Linked DNA regions of Homo sapiens: regions 1, 2, 3 and 5 are each linked to region 4. Evidence: promoter capture Hi-C in 16 types of primary human blood cells and fetal thymus (Javierre and others, 2016). All regions are on one chromosome and are shown on one strand. The core of a region is centred on a gene start or on the middle of the fragment in contact, and the rest is flanking DNA. Distances in the headings are between cores, read along the strand shown.

Region 1 (2,743 bases), core at 93-2,592, 2.4 Mb before region 4:
CCTGTTTGAATACGAGGGCTGCAAAGTTGGCCGAGGCACTTATGGTCACGTCTACAAAGCCAAGAGGAAAGATGGGTGAGTGTGTGTGTCTGGGCCGGTGTCCGCGCTGGGCGGCGCTCCCGCAGGCCGAGGCAGGTAGCCCGGAGGGAGAGCGGGCCGCCGGGGTGCCGGGCTCTGACTTCCTCGACGCCGGCCTCTGGCTCCGCCAGCCAGGTTTGGGGAGGAAGTGGTGTACGAGGGATCCAAACCCACGAGAAATCCTGCGTGCCGCGTCTGTGTTCTGCTCTGGTGGTAAGAGGCAAGATGAGCCTCTGCACCGTGGGCTGTATACTTTTCAAGGATTTCAAAGCTGATTCATGAAAAAATTCGTTCTAAAACGCCGGGTTAAATGTTTTTTGTTTTTTTTTTTCCTTGGTCGATTTATTATGGTAACCTTCTGGGGATTTCCTCACCCGCCTCTGGAGTGTCATCCATCGGTCTAGAAGGAAGGCTGTGATCCTTTCCCCCACCAGTTTGTGATCGATTTTTTATCAAATTTGTATTTTATTTGAGGAAAGGAAGGCAGCGAGTGAATGTGGTTCTGGAGAGAGTTCCCCATAGTGATCATCTGCAACATAAATGTTGCAATTGCTATTTAGATATTATTAGCTGTGAATTTTTACATAGAACAATGGGGGTTTGGTGCAGGGTGGGTGGTGGGGAAGAAGGCAAGTGACATAGGGACTATCTCGTTCAGGCGGTTTCCCCCAAATTTAGCGGCTGGCAGTGAACTTTAAATAATCCCTTTGCTTTAAATATTCTTCCCTAGTAACAACTTAATTAAACCTATGACTGGTAATGCTTCCAATTTAGTTTCTTAACAGGCAAGTGAATTGTTCATTTTTTCTCTTTGTCAGTAGATGAATGTCTTGTAATATTGACAAAAGAGAAGGCAATTCTTAGTTGGGGGGAAAATATATTTTATTAACTCCATGTTTTCTTGTAAAATGGATGTTGTCTCTGTTGCCTTTGACAGAATAGAAAATTATTGAAAAGTCAAAGCTTATTATATAATCCTTGGATTTTATTAGAAACGAAGTAGCTTTACTTGAGCATCCCAGTTTAGTCACCTGCTGTATGATGTTTAATCACTTAAAATTTCCAATTAGGTAGGAGAGTATGTTCAGACTACATTAGCACGAAAAAAAAATTCATAAAGCTGAAGTTCCCTACTGTGGGGTAGGGGGGCGCATATTTACAAATACTTTAGTATTCTGGATGTTGGAAAGGAAAGTGTATATTTATTGGACATTTTTCTTAGATTTACTGAAATGTCTTTCTAAAAGTATTTACAATGGACTCTACGAGGAAGATAGGAGTTCTAATTAATTTAGAATGTGTATTTTAGTGCTTTTATGCAACAGTAAAGTGGAACAGATCGGCAGAAGGTAGGGATTTGGATTTGAAAACTTGATATTCTGGGCGCCGCACGTATTTAAAAGTACTTTTTAGCGGAATGGATAGTCTGGTGACACTGGAGAAATCAGCGTCTGGAGATATTGCTGACTCTGTTGTTGTCTAATTAGACTTATTGTTGAAGTTTTACTCTGTAATGACATATATTTTTAAAATTATGTTTGTTAACTCACCATACAATATTTCTCAAAAGCTTTAAACCATCTCCCCTTCCCCCAGTATTATGTAATTTTGGGCATATTCATAAAATCCCCAATCCCATGAGATTAGACATTACAGTACATTTGACCAAACTGACATGTTATATAAAATTCTAGCGCCTTTGCATTATTTTTAATCTGTGTGAGAGAAGCCGGTTCTGTTTTCATAAATTACCAATTTAAGCTAATAAAATATGCATATTTGTTTTAACGTTGTACATTTTATTAGAAAACTAATACTGTGTATTGGCAGGGGGTACTTAAGCACATTTTATATCTCTATGGTCAGGTTTTAATTTAGGCCGTTAAGAATAATTTGAAAGAATAATTTCAATATCTTTGAATTTAAAGATAGTTGAAGGTATAATGTATGGACATTCTTAGTCATCTGTGACAGCTGAAAAGTAACATTGCATTTTGGAAAAAAGAACTTATTATTTGTAATCCTTGGAGTTTGTTTTCCATCAGTCTTTAATGATTCTCTTTATGTGATGAACTTCTATTTTTAATGGATCAAATGTCAAGAGAGTTTTAAAATTACTATCTTTTAGAGATAGTTTTAGAGAGTTTTAAAATTACAGGGATTTTTTTCGGTTTGACTTCTCTTTGTAACCTCACTCTGGTAAAGTATCGCATAGTATTTATGAGGTTCTTTTGATCTTATGTCAGTGAAATGTAATTTAATGCATTTTAGTCCTGGTAAAATAAAATTTGTGGCTGTTTAATCTTTCATAATAAGATGATGATCAAATAATTTGTTTCTAGTATTGATTTACTTTCAAATTACATTATATATTCTGCAGCTGAGATTTGTTCTCTAGGAACTCAGACAGTAACACCTTTAAGGAGAACCTGAGATTTTCTATAAAAGGAAGTAACGCAAATAAGCTTGGTTTAGACATATTTGACTATTGAAATGAATGTATGTAAACGTTGTATCCTTTCAGTTGCCCAGTGAGCATAGAACATGAATAATTGGTAAAATAATTTAGACCAGAGAAGTTAGCTGCTTAAATTATTAAGTTTTAGGAAATAAAATAGCTTCAAAGATTCATTTCTTTGACTTACTTGAGGCATGATTGCATAGT
Region 2 (2,773 bases), core at 227-2,726, 2.4 Mb before region 4:
ATGCTAGTTGTTCCTTGACGCCATCTAACCGCTGTTGCAGTTCTTCTGATGTTATTTCTCCTAAAACAATGAAAAACTGCTCATTTAAGAATTCTGAATTAAGTTTTATGAGACCTCATGAAGGGTAAGACTAATCTTTAGTAACCTATAGAAGACAAATGTCTTATTACTTTCATATGTTCTGTAAATTGAAGACAGTTAAAAATATTCAACTGGTACAAATGTGCATCAATTCGGTTGTGCTTCATTTATTAATCTTTTATTAAAAATTATTAAAATAAGATTTAATTTGAATAGTTGGTAAAGTGCTGCCAGTTGATACACTTAGGAATCTATAAGCTATAACTGTGGATTTTTGTCAGTTAAAAAGAAATTAAGGGAGCATTTATAGAGAAAACTTCAAATATTTACTTGAATTTTATCCCAAATACTTCATTATATGGGTCATCAATATACAAACACACAATATATAAACATACAAATTTCCATTAGTTCATTTGTAAAAACTTTATGGAACACATTGGGCTTTGGGGGGAGCTATTAATTCAGCTGAATAAATAAATTATAATACCCCAAATGAGTTCAAATTGGGTTTTAAGTCATATTTTATTTGTATAAAAATTACAAATAGGACCATATATGTAAATACTTAACACCATTATGTACATTAACCTGTTTCTTAGTTTGGCATTTGTATAATAGTGCTCCATGTCCCCTATTTTCACCTTATAAAATACAGAAGCCAGTGATTTTCTACTTTATTATACTAAAAAGTTCTTAAACTCACAAAAACAATATACTATATTTTCATAAAGAGAAGCAAGGAAAAAGAATACCAATTCTCCTTATCTTGAAATCCTTCCATCTAAATGATGAAAAAAGGGTGTTTCCTCTTTTACCCATCTCTTACCAGGGGTGCCTAAAAGATTATGGTCTCTCATAAGCCGATAATCTTCATCATTGAGTTCATTAATAAACTGATAATAGGCCTCTTCTCTGTGGAGACGCTCTTGCTGCCATCTTCTCTCATTTTCATGATGATTATGGTCTTGAGGTAAGGTTTCTTCACTGCCACCATCTGATCTCGATCTAGACTGATTCATCCTGAGATTCCTGGCTTTCTGTTCAAACAATATAAACAACATTCAAGGTGTTAAGTCATGGACCACATTTGGCTTTGTATTTTTAACTTGCAGTTTTTCTTAATTTTTAAATGTTGTCCCCTACCCAAATACTGTATTTGCCAAATCTTGCAGTGAGAAGCTTACATATAAAATGAAAAACAGCTTCTAGGAAATACAACACAATTGGCACTTACTTCTTTGCCTAAAGCCATTAAGTCAGACTGGATTTGGGTTTACCACACAATGCTCATGCCTGAATACCATAGTGATTATCTCATTTTTGACCATGTTGACGATCTGGAAAAGTTGATCCAGAAGTCCTCATTTATGTTTCAGGATCTGGGTACTTCACATTAATTACAAATTTTAGGCTTGAATTATGCACATTCTTCACTTAATGAGCAAAGGGATACTGGGATGATATAATTTACATTTGTTTTCAGCAAGGTATTCTTTCCAAAATAAGGCTCATGAATGTAATATTATCCCCCACTGCACTTTGATGAGGTGAAAATCATTTAGCCTAATTAATATCTACTGAACAAACTGGAAGGTGGTCTCTTATTAAAGCTTACCAGGAAGACTTTGAAACCCAACAGGAAACAAGACATCATGTATGGCTCAAGGATTGTGAAAGTGCATCAGAGCACTTTGTATCACCCCATATCAAGCCTCATCCTTAAGCCTGGAATGGTTAGTCCCAGGAGTTTCAGAATGCCAGTGAAACTTCCTGACTTTGCCTAAGAAACCACTATTTTTGGATTATATTTAAGTGTCACTCCTGAGAAGCTCACTTTTAAATTACATGGAAATCAAGAGAGAAAGATGTTTGTTTCACAAATATTTTAGAATTTCTTAAATACATCTATTCAGTAAGTCACACTAAAGCAATGGTTCTCAAACTCACTTAAGGGTATTTTTAAAAATCTAGATGCCCAAATCTCATCCCCAATCCTTGATTAGAGTTTTCCAGGGTAGGACCAGGTCTGCTGTTAAGAGCTAATTTGGGTGTTCTGCAGATGAAATAAACTATTCCTCGACAATTTCTGGCATGTCACTAAAGGGTATGAGTAATACAGCACCTGACTCAGTAGAGGCTGGAGGCTCAAATGGCTAGGCTACCAGTGAAGCAACTGTGCAACTCTGCCTCTCGAAATACACTAGGTATTTAATAAGCAAGCTGCTTTAAATATAAGGTGAAATTAGCCTACAAGTCTAAAATACTGTTGGAGTAAGCAACTATTCAATTTCACCTGTAACACTAAATTACAAATTCAAGGATTTTTTTCACTGTGGTTATTTTATTATGTCATTTTGAACAAATGACCTAGTAACATTATCCACTCAAATATGAATTAACACTACTAAAAACTCAAGATCTCTATCTTCAGATTAAGACCATAATTAGCAAAGAGCATATTTCGTAGGTACAGCAATAATAGGATTTTTGTAATAAATAATTTTACAAGTTGAAGCCTATCATAAAATCAAGTTACCCTAATATTATTTAAAACTTGAGCTTCTCCTTAAAGGTAATTTTCTTATACAGTTAATCACAATGAAAACAAAGCGAATACCTTATTTTCCTTTCAACACGCTTTTAACATATGCCATGGTATCCATCCTTCAATTGTTTGTGCCTTTTTTGA
Region 3 (3,051 bases), core at 405-2,904, 2.5 Mb after region 4:
GTTGATATTTTAAACTGATAAGAGAAAAATACTAACATAAATGTCCTACCCATTAGGGGATAGGGAACAAGCATAGCACAATTTTAAGGTCTATAGCTTTCATCAGATACTCAAAGGGGGCTTCCACTTAATTGCTGCTCTGAGATCCAACCTAGGTGGCAGTTCTACTACCCCAAAAACCTCTGCTCGTGGCTCAGGAATTCTCCAGGTTCCAGTTATTATGAACCGAACATTAACTTTGAAAATGTTTTAAATATGTTAACGGTATTATTAATTTGACCCTACACACGACTAACAAAAAATAGGATGTGACTCTACCTTTCAGTCACCAACTCTGTACAAATCTAAATGTCATTGTCATACCGACTTTTGTTCTGATATACCACCGGCTTCTTTAGGAATCAAAAGTTTTTATGCAAACGCAAGCAAATGAACCCAAGTTACACCTCTGAAGTTTAAAGAGCACAAAGAGGTTCCCATCTGGGAGATTCTGCCGGAGAAAGAAAAAAATGATGCACAACAAGTACCATGGCAAAACAGAATATAAATGTCGAGGGAAAGGAGTGACTAATCAGTTACATCAAATCTGTTTTGAAGAGATGGAAAGTGACTTACAACTGTGAAACAACCTTCTCAGCCACCATGGAAATGGAACCGCACAATAACAGAGCAGAGACTAGCTTAAAAAGTCTTGTGAGAAGAAGGTAAGTGAATTAGGTTTTGGATTAGAGGAGTTATCTAATTCTGGATTACTAATTCAAATATAATCTAATTTTGGGTGAGTTACTCCTACCTGCTTAGGTATGAGTAATGGTAAACGAGATGAGCAAAACGGGAAAATACTGAGGGCATTAAGTACCACCCTTAAGTTTAAATTTGCTATAATAGAAACATCCTCAAACTATATTATCTGAGCAAGTGTTAAATAAAATAGCATCCTAAAAGCCAGAGAAGTGTCCAAGCAGAAGCTAGACAAGAAACCGTCAAAATCAGAGCATCACTGTAAGCTCTGAATAACCATACACTTGCAGAATGGATCTACTCATTTTCCTAGGGGAGAATCAAATTAATTGTACTAAATAACAATTAGTAGCTGATACAATAGAATCCACCACAATTATAGTTTAACAAACATATTAAGGGGAACTCCAATACTGCCCTCAGTTCACATTTTTCAGGGCCATACCTGTTGTCTTTGATTTCACACAGTAGTCCCTGTATAACACAATTTTTTTTCCCACTCTCTTCTCTGAAAAGCTTTTCTTTGTTTTATTGGATCAACCAGAACAAAGTATAAACTGTATCTAGGCATGAAAGCCTGAAATACTGTTTTCTTTCTTACTAAACTCCAATTAAAAAAACCTTAACCAAAACACAAACTTAGATCTGCAGGGGTAGACGTACAGGTTGCTCAGAACAGTCTTCCTAACGTTACTAACATTGCCAAATATTTTGCCTCAGATTTTCCACTCAACTTTCATAAACGTTCTCAGCACCCAAATAATTGTATTACCCCAGTCATTCATTCTACCTTTAGGTTCAATGTTTTCATTTTGCACTTTTCATCCTGAGCTTGGGACATTTGAAAAAAATTAATAGGTACAGTATTTTCCTTGAGATGAAATCATTTGTTTTCATCAATGCACATGCAGATATGTTTGTATATATTCTCGTCCGAAAATATCCCTTCACGAAACTTGCTTTTTAAAATGTTGCCCTTTGCCCACCCTATGCTCCTATAGAATATTTAGTTCAGTGACGACATCCATCCTCTTTTGGCGTCCTAGCACAAAAGTATGCAATTTTTATTCTCTTTTAAATAAACTGTGCAAAATTAATTTTAAAAATACGGTTTACAATTCCTCATGAATGGCAAAGAGCAAAAAAAAAGACGTTTACATCTTTCGACAATGATCCCGGGCATTAAGGCCAACAATGTTAGCAACGAAGAGACTGGGTAAAAAGAGGTGGGCTAATCTTTCATAGGACTGCTTCCGTGGTCGCTAACAACAATCCGCCTGCTCACTGGACAAGCAGCGACACAAGCTCTGGAAGCTTCCAGTTCATTTCGAGATTCACAATGCGGAAGAAAAAGGCCGGCAGCCCCGCTCCGCGGTGCGCAAAGATATGCGCGAAGGGAGGAGGACAAGCTGGAGGCGGCTCAGCCAGCTCAGAGAGGCCGGGTGGGGATACGGGGGCGGCCGCGGAAGGCGCAGGCTGCAGCCTGCCAAGAAAAGGGAGCGAAGTTGCGGGCTTTGCCGCAGCCCGACCCCCAGTAGGTTTTGAAAACCCCCAATAGGAAGCCCGCACAAGGTGACGACCCTTAGAGTCTCGACTCTGGGACTCCTCTCACCCCCGTGAATCCCTGAGACAATCCCTTCTCCAATTTGTGATGGCAAGCCCCCCATCCCTCCTCTGGCCGGGTCGCTGGTCCCTAGTTCCACGGAGGGGTGCGCCGCTGCCCAAACGCCTCCGTTTGCCGCGGTGATCCGTACAGCCAGCCCGCGATCTTGGGTCCCCACACTAAGGGCCCAGAACCTCCTCCCATCCACCCTCGCAGACTCCCACTTACGGGGTGCACCGGTCGCTGAACTCATTGGCGATGGTCTCGATGCCCCCGGCCCGGGCTACCGCGATGTAGCAGCTCTGCGAGCCCACGTCCAACCCCACCACCGACATGGCCGGCTCGCGGTCCGCCTCCGCCTCGGGTCTCGGTCTGCGTCCTCCGGCCCCCTGCCTGCTTCTCCTGCCGCCGCTTTCTGCCCTGGCCGCGTTCTGCTCCGGCCCGCGGGGTCTGGCCGTTCCTCTGACACTCAGAAGGACACACAGACAGCCGCGGCCTGTCAGGAGCCTCCTACTCCCCCGGGGACAGCGGCGGCTGGCTGATAAGAAACCCTGGGAGAAAGCGGGGCTCAGCCTCCGCAGGTCGCTCCGCACCTCGGGTTGCCTGCCTCACTCTGCCGCGGCTCGCACACCGGCGCCGGCGCTGAACTACCGACCCAAAAGGGGAGGTCCCACTTCCTCAGCCTTATGTATCGCACTGATCAGAAC
Region 4 (2,954 bases), core at 330-2,829:
AGTACCAAGCAAATGTTCAATACATATTCATTGAACTGTGAGCAATCAGCAAATGTTAAAATGATTTTTAAGAAAAGATTCGCAGTTTTACAATTTCTCAGGTGGAATTGACGGAAAGAAAAAAAGATGCAAACGAAACACTCCAACTCAAATCTCAGGATTAAACATGGCTATTGTGAAGGACCAGAAGACACCTAAAGGACAGCATGGCAGAACACATAACATCTGGAACTTCAAAGTTGTATGACCATGGCAGTGGATATACATAACATATATGGCCTTATCATTTTCCTCTCTCAAATCCTTCGATGGCTTTTTAAAGACAAAGCCTCATCCTTAATCTTGCCTACAAAGGCTGCATAAAAAACCTGTAGCTAGGTCCCATGATGCACGCCTGTAGTTCCCATTACTCAGCCGGCTGCAGCAGGAGAATCGCTTGAGCCCAGGAGTTCAACGCAGACCTGGGCAACATAGCTAAACCCTATCATTATTTAGAACAAACAAACAAAAACAACAACAAAAACCACTTGCCTCCATCTACTTACAACCTCATCTCACAGTACTCTCCACTTTACTTTCTGAACTTTAGCCAGACTTAGGCCTTCTTTCCAGTTCCGTTTTTGCACAAGCAGATCTGCACGTAATGTTGTTTTAAATATCCTACTACCCCAAACTAGTTCGCTCTTATCTTTTAGCTGTCAGTCCAAAGATTCCCTAAGATGTCTCCATCCTGTGGCAGCAGACTATAAGGCCGTTTTATTACATTATATTTGAACAATACAGAATAGTGTAATGAGCATGGATTCTAGACTCATAAATATGTCCTTAGGCATATTTATTTAAGCCCTTCATGTCTCGGTTTCTTCACCTGTAAATTGTACTTGTAAGGTTATTGAAAAGATTAAAAGAGATAAAGGATGTAAGCACTTAGAACTGTGTTGATAACGCAATTCAAAGGGCCCAACATATGTCGGTCATGATCACATTTACTTAATTTGTAGTCACTATCGTCCCCTCTCTCCCCTCTAGCCTCCGGAGTACCCCTGCTCCTCTAGCCCAGAGGCCACACCGGCCTGGTCCTTTTTTGTATTCCTAGCCTCAGCACAGGGTTCGGAACATACCAGGCCTTCAATATTATGTTTTTTAAAAATGACAAAAGCCTTGTGTCCCAATTTTGCTTTATTAGCCGAACGATCTCAAGCAAATCACTCAAACCACCTACGCCTCGTTTACCCTTCTGTGAAATGTAATAGCTACCTCAGAGAGGTTTTGTGTTAAATAAGGCGATGTACCTACAAAAGCACACTGCACATCTTAAAATGCCGTACAAACCGTAGATGTTTATTAATAAACCGGAGTCCGTGTCTTCCCTCCCCTCAGGCACGTCTCGTCCCGACCCCTCCCTCCTCCCAGCCCACACCCTTACTGCGCCCTTGGCCCTGGGTCCCTTGGGATTGCAAGCGTGGGAGCCTCGGCCCCGCGCAGCTCCCTCCGGCGTCCCGCGCCCTCCTTCCTTCCTCGCCAGGACGGACGCACTTCCGGCGGATGTGGGGGCCAGCCCTCGGAAACGGAAGTGAGCGGCGGGGTCGACTGACGGTAACGGGGCAGAGAGGCTGTTCGCAGAGCTGCGGAAGATGGTGAGTGGGTACCCGGGCGGCTGGAGTTCCACGCGGGCTCGGGACCGTGGCTCGGCAGAAACAGGCAGTCGCCTCCCAACCCGTCCCCGGTGGCGGCGGCGGCGGCAGCGTGGGGCTGAGGCCGGCCTCAGGCGCCATAATCTGTCGAGTCACGGGGTTTGGGTGGGTCGTGACTGTCGCCGGGGCCCGGCACTAGTCCCACTAGCAGTGCTTCGGCTTCATCCTGCTCCTCTTAGCTCGGTTTGCGCCCTTCCATCCCTTAGACCCCAGCAGGCCCAGACCTCCTCCCCTTACTTGGCGCAGAAGTGGAAAAGGCAGCCGTGAAAGTGCAACGTTCTGTGGGGTGGCGCTGGCGACCCTTTCCTTGACGGGTAACCTCTGGGAGCCCAGAGCTCTCAGACTCCTCATCTCCCCCAGCCCCCGCCCTTGTAACTGCCTAGTAAACAGCCCACAACTATAGGTCGCATTTGTGTAACGCAGCTTTGCTCTACAAACTTTTTTGAGAGCTTGTAGTGTGCTAGATGTTAGAGGGGAAAAAATCAGACAGTTGCTATTCCCTGTTTGCCAGTATTGTTAGTATATCTCCTCCCTCCTTCTCCTCCCCACCACTTTCTCTTTCTTTTTAACTTAGAAGTTGTGGTATTTGAGAAGAACACTGAGTCACCATTGCCACAGACTCTGATATCGGTACTGCTGGTAGGCCATCCATCCAAATCTAGAAAGTTTCTATTGGTAAATACTGCTAATCGTTATCTAAAAAGTTTTTTAGGCACTCTCAAATGTAACTAGTAGTTAGGTTTTCGTAGATTTGCCTTTCTCGGCTCCTTCCTTTATTAGAAACAGCAAGTACTAATCTTGATATTTTACAGAAGGAAATTGGGAAAAATGACAATAACAGAATCCAGAAGTCAGAATTCACCTTTTCTTTGTGCGTTGAAACCTTGTTACTTTACAATAAAGCAGTCCAGAAGGAGGAGAATGTTCATATAGGGAAGTAATAGAAGATACATTTGGAAAGCAACAATCACACATCTCTGCTGAAGGTCCCCAACTTCTGGTGGTTCAACAATCTTCTGACTTTATGATGGTGTGAAATCCATACACAGTCAGTAGAGGCCATATTTGAGTACCAATACAGCCATTCTGTTTTTCACTTTCAGTACAGTATTCAATAAATTACATGAGATACCCAGTACTTTTTAATAAAGTAGGCTTTGTATTAGATGATTTTGGCCGACTGTAGGCTAGTGTAAGTGTTCTGAGCACATTTAAGGTAGGCTAGGCTAAGGCCTGATGTTTAGTAGGTTAGGTGTGTTA
Region 5 (2,898 bases), core at 25-2,524, 2.5 Mb after region 4:
CTCCTTTTCAAAACAATCCCAGCAGGTATTGCACAATTGCAGACAATACTGTCCTAATGCATTAGAGCCTAAGTCCCCTAAACGCATTCAAGTTAAGAGGGCTCAAGCCTACAAATGTTTATTCAGCACCTGCTTCTCTGTCTCCAGGACATCCTACTTGTATTCCCAGGGCCATCCTACTTGTACTCCCAGGGCCTCCTCCTCCTTAAATGTTTAGCAAGTAGGTGAATGTTGTATGTCCATGTGAAAGATACTGGCATTCCTAGGGTGCTTAGCAGAGTTGCAGTCACATAGTAGGTATCCAACAAATGAGTAAATATGAAGGAAAACATAGAAACTGCCTTCAAGAGGTCATGGGCTAAACTAGGGCTGGGAAAAGCACTTGGTCCTGTGCACTTCCTTGGAAACAGAAGTGAGCCAAGGCTTGAGGGAGGCACGAAGGAGTTCAGAACCACTGAAGGGAGCCTCTAGTTCTTACTTGTAATGCTTTCCCCTTCAGTGCACCACACAACACAACAGGACCAGTCCCCTATCAGGGCCACCACTCTACCGGGCTGGGGAGGAAAGCCCTTCGCAGTCCTGCGGGAACAGGAGGCACTCCCACATTGCTCCACTTCTCTGTATTCCAGTTTAATTAATTTTTATATTTTGAATAAAATTACACCCACTCTCTTCCATTATGGTGAACACTTAAAATTACATTTATAGAAAATTACATTTACACAAACTTGTTTAAAAGCCAAATCCCAGACCTAGGCTATTGGCCAAATTCCATTTAAAGGGGATATTAAGTAAATTAGTTGAGCTGATTAAAAACACCTTCATCAAAGTAGAGCATTGGTGCCAACAATATTAAGAGTTGAACTATTGATTACATTTTTTTTTCCACAGCAGATAATACATTAGCAGGGAGGAAAAGTGATTACTGCTCGCTTCCACTTCACAGGTAGAACTACTGATGGGGGTGACGCGGTAAGGTGGGAGGGCATGAAGGCAGGGGACGCGGCCTAGGTCAGGAGGGACGCAGAGGAGAAAGGAAGAGGAGGGGTGGAGGCTGGTGGCTGGAGGGGGCAGAGGTCAGACGCCTCGAAGGAGGGCGCCGTGAGGGCAGAGCCGCGGCCACCTCTACCGCAGCAGCCCGTCGGGCCGGACACCAGCCGCAGCCGCCAGCCCGGCAGACGCTGGAAGCGCGCACAGGGGTGCTCCCGCTCCCGGCCGCCAGAGGGCGCGGCCGGCGATGGCGCGGCGGAGACGGAGGGAGGAGGGGAGCCGGCAGAGAAGGGTCAGCCGCGGCGGCAGGGCGGCGGCGGCAGCGGCGCAGCTCCGCTCCCCGCGCGTCTCCCTTCCCCGCGCCCAGGTAGGGCGCTCAGCCTCCGCCGCCAGGATGCGGCCGCCCGCCTGCTGGTGGCTGCTCGCGCCGCCGGCGCTGCTCGCGCTCCTCACCTGCTCCCTGGGTAAGTAGCGGGCGGCCAGGCGCGCAAGGGCGAGGCGTGGGGTTCGCGGGCACAGTCGCCCGTGCCCCGGTCGGCGCGGGGAGGGAGGCGCAGGGCGGCCCAGCCCTGCCCCGCCGGCGCGCGCGTCCCGCCGTCCGGTCCCCGCCGCGCCGCGCCGTCAGCAGCGCCCTCTCGCGGCGCCCAGGTGGGACCCGGGCCCGGGACCCGAGGCGTGCCCGCTCGGCCCCTTTCGGTCTTGGGTCCCCGCTGCCGCCCCGGCCCCAGACTCGCGTCTCCCAGCCTCTGCCGCCCCGAACCGGCGGGCGACGGGGCGGCGAGGGCGCAGCAGCCGCCCCCACAGGAAGCGCGCAGGAACTGTGCCACCGAAGAAACTTTGCAACAGCGCGAGTGGCGGCGGCGGCGGTCCCGCCCCCCTGCCTTCCGCCCGCGCTCCGCCGTCCTGCGCGCCCCGCGCCGGGCGGGAGGCTGGACGGGAGCCGGCGAGGCGGCCCTCGAGGCCCCGCGGCTCCTGTTCGACCCCCGGGGGCGAGGACTGCGGTCCCGGTGTCCGCGCGCCCCTCCGCAGGGCCTTCGGGACGTGCCCTGGCCCCTGAGGATAAGCGGCCAGCTCGGCGCCAGCCCTTCCCGGATTCCGACCCGGAGGAGGACAGGGGCGCCCGCTGGGCCTCCGCGGGAGCTGGCGCGGCGGGGAGGCTTGCTCCTGTCTCGGGTCTCCGCTGGGGACATCAGGGGACACGTCTGCGAGCAGAGCAGTGCTTGCCCGGTCTCCTGCTGCTGTAATGCCCATTCTTTTTTATTTCTTTTCTCCTCGCAAGGGCATTTCCCCCCTTTATCTTAAAACGATGTGATAAAAGTTAAAAAAAAAAAAAAAGCAGCCTTGTAATTGACTTTCATGATCAGATTTGTTCAACTTTGAAAGCTTGAGCGAAAAATTATTTTTTTTTCAGACTGCTACAGAGTTTTTGTCCTCTAACCCAGACTTGCTGGTGTGAAAAGGCAATGATTTCAGATTTTTTAGTAATGGCAGAATGGTGCAGTTTAGGAAAAGACGTAGCGTTATTGCGCACTGCTCTTGTTAGCCCACCGGAACCTTGACAGCCTGTTTTTATTTGTATTTAAGCTCTCTGAATAAGGATTAATTTGCTGCATTTGTGTACTTCTGGCATTTCTATAGGCGCTCAGTAAGTGTGGGAAAAGAGCAAGATTAGTTGGTAATTGTTTACATGCATGATTAATTAGGCAGCAGTGTAATTAAAAATATTAGGGCACCTCCGGCAGAGAAGGCTGTAGTTGGTCTTGGGGAGCGACTGAATTTGGCTGGAATCGGCTTCAGTGGAAGAAGGGCATTGCTGGGTGGCAGCCCTGGGAGAAAGGGAGGTTGGAGGTTTGGGAAAGCGACTGGGTGACTCCTGGCTGCATCAGTTGGCTTGTTGCCTGGATGTTT

Evidence for each region. Contacts are between HindIII fragments. The CHiCAGO score rates a contact against its expected background, and 5 or more counts as called.
Region 1: a contact is called between a fragment that was not itself captured here and the fragment with the promoter of POMP in region 4, in 1 of 17 cell types (total CD8 T cells). The highest score is 5.4, in total CD8 T cells.
Region 2: a fragment that was not itself captured here is called in contact with the fragment with the promoter of POMP in region 4 in 1 of 17 cell types (naive CD8 T cells); the score reaches 8.7 in naive CD8 T cells.
Region 3: a fragment that was not itself captured here is called in contact with the fragment with the promoter of POMP in region 4 in 3 of 17 cell types (naive CD8 T cells, naive CD4 T cells and total CD8 T cells); the score reaches 11.6 in naive CD8 T cells.
Region 5: the fragment with the promoter of B3GLCT here is called in contact with the fragment with the promoter of POMP in region 4 in 2 of 17 cell types (naive CD8 T cells and total CD8 T cells); the score reaches 7.0 in naive CD8 T cells.

What each region holds. Positions count from the first base shown.
Region 1 is chr13:26,254,695-26,257,437 of GRCh38, forward strand. CDK8 (cyclin dependent kinase 8) reads left to right here. Exons shown (of 13, transcript NM_001260.3): 1 at 1-75. Among named protein-coding and RNA genes, the nearest start is that of CDK8, 1.9 kb to the left of the region's middle. RefSeq lists a silencer at 1-39. The HindIII fragment of the contact is 607 bases long and covers 1,040-1,646 here.
Region 2 is chr13:26,218,547-26,221,319 of GRCh38, forward strand. It overlaps RNF6 (ring finger protein 6), which reads right to left. Exons shown (of 5, transcript NM_005977.4): 2 at 2,702-2,773; 3 at 911-1,121; 4 at 1-60. The coding sequence starts at 1,103. Among named protein-coding and RNA genes, the nearest start is that of RNF6, 2.4 kb to the right of the region's middle. RefSeq lists an enhancer at 2,540-2,773. The HindIII fragment of the contact is 431 bases long and covers 1,262-1,692 here.
Region 3 is chr13:31,158,904-31,161,954 of GRCh38, forward strand. It overlaps HSPH1 (heat shock protein family H (Hsp110) member 1), which reads right to left and starts at 3,001. Exons shown (of 18, transcript NM_006644.4): 1 at 2,573-3,001. The coding sequence starts at 2,679. RefSeq lists enhancers at 2,095-2,640, 2,641-3,051, 2,798-2,877, 3,008-3,051. The HindIII fragment of the contact is 798 bases long and covers 1,256-2,053 here.
Region 4 is chr13:28,657,551-28,660,504 of GRCh38, forward strand. POMP (proteasome maturation protein) reads left to right here and starts at 1,580. Exons shown (of 6, transcript NM_015932.6): 1 at 1,580-1,637. The coding sequence starts at 1,635. RefSeq lists an enhancer at 1,073-1,232 and a silencer at 1,453-1,512. The HindIII fragment of the contact is 5,788 bases long and covers 1-2,954 here.
Region 5 is chr13:31,198,701-31,201,598 of GRCh38, forward strand. It overlaps B3GLCT (beta 3-glucosyltransferase), which reads left to right and starts at 1,275. Exons shown (of 15, transcript NM_194318.4): 1 at 1,275-1,454. The coding sequence starts at 1,385. RefSeq lists silencers at 916-975, 1,026-1,925, 1,986-2,235. The HindIII fragment of the contact is 2,637 bases long and covers 1-2,371 here.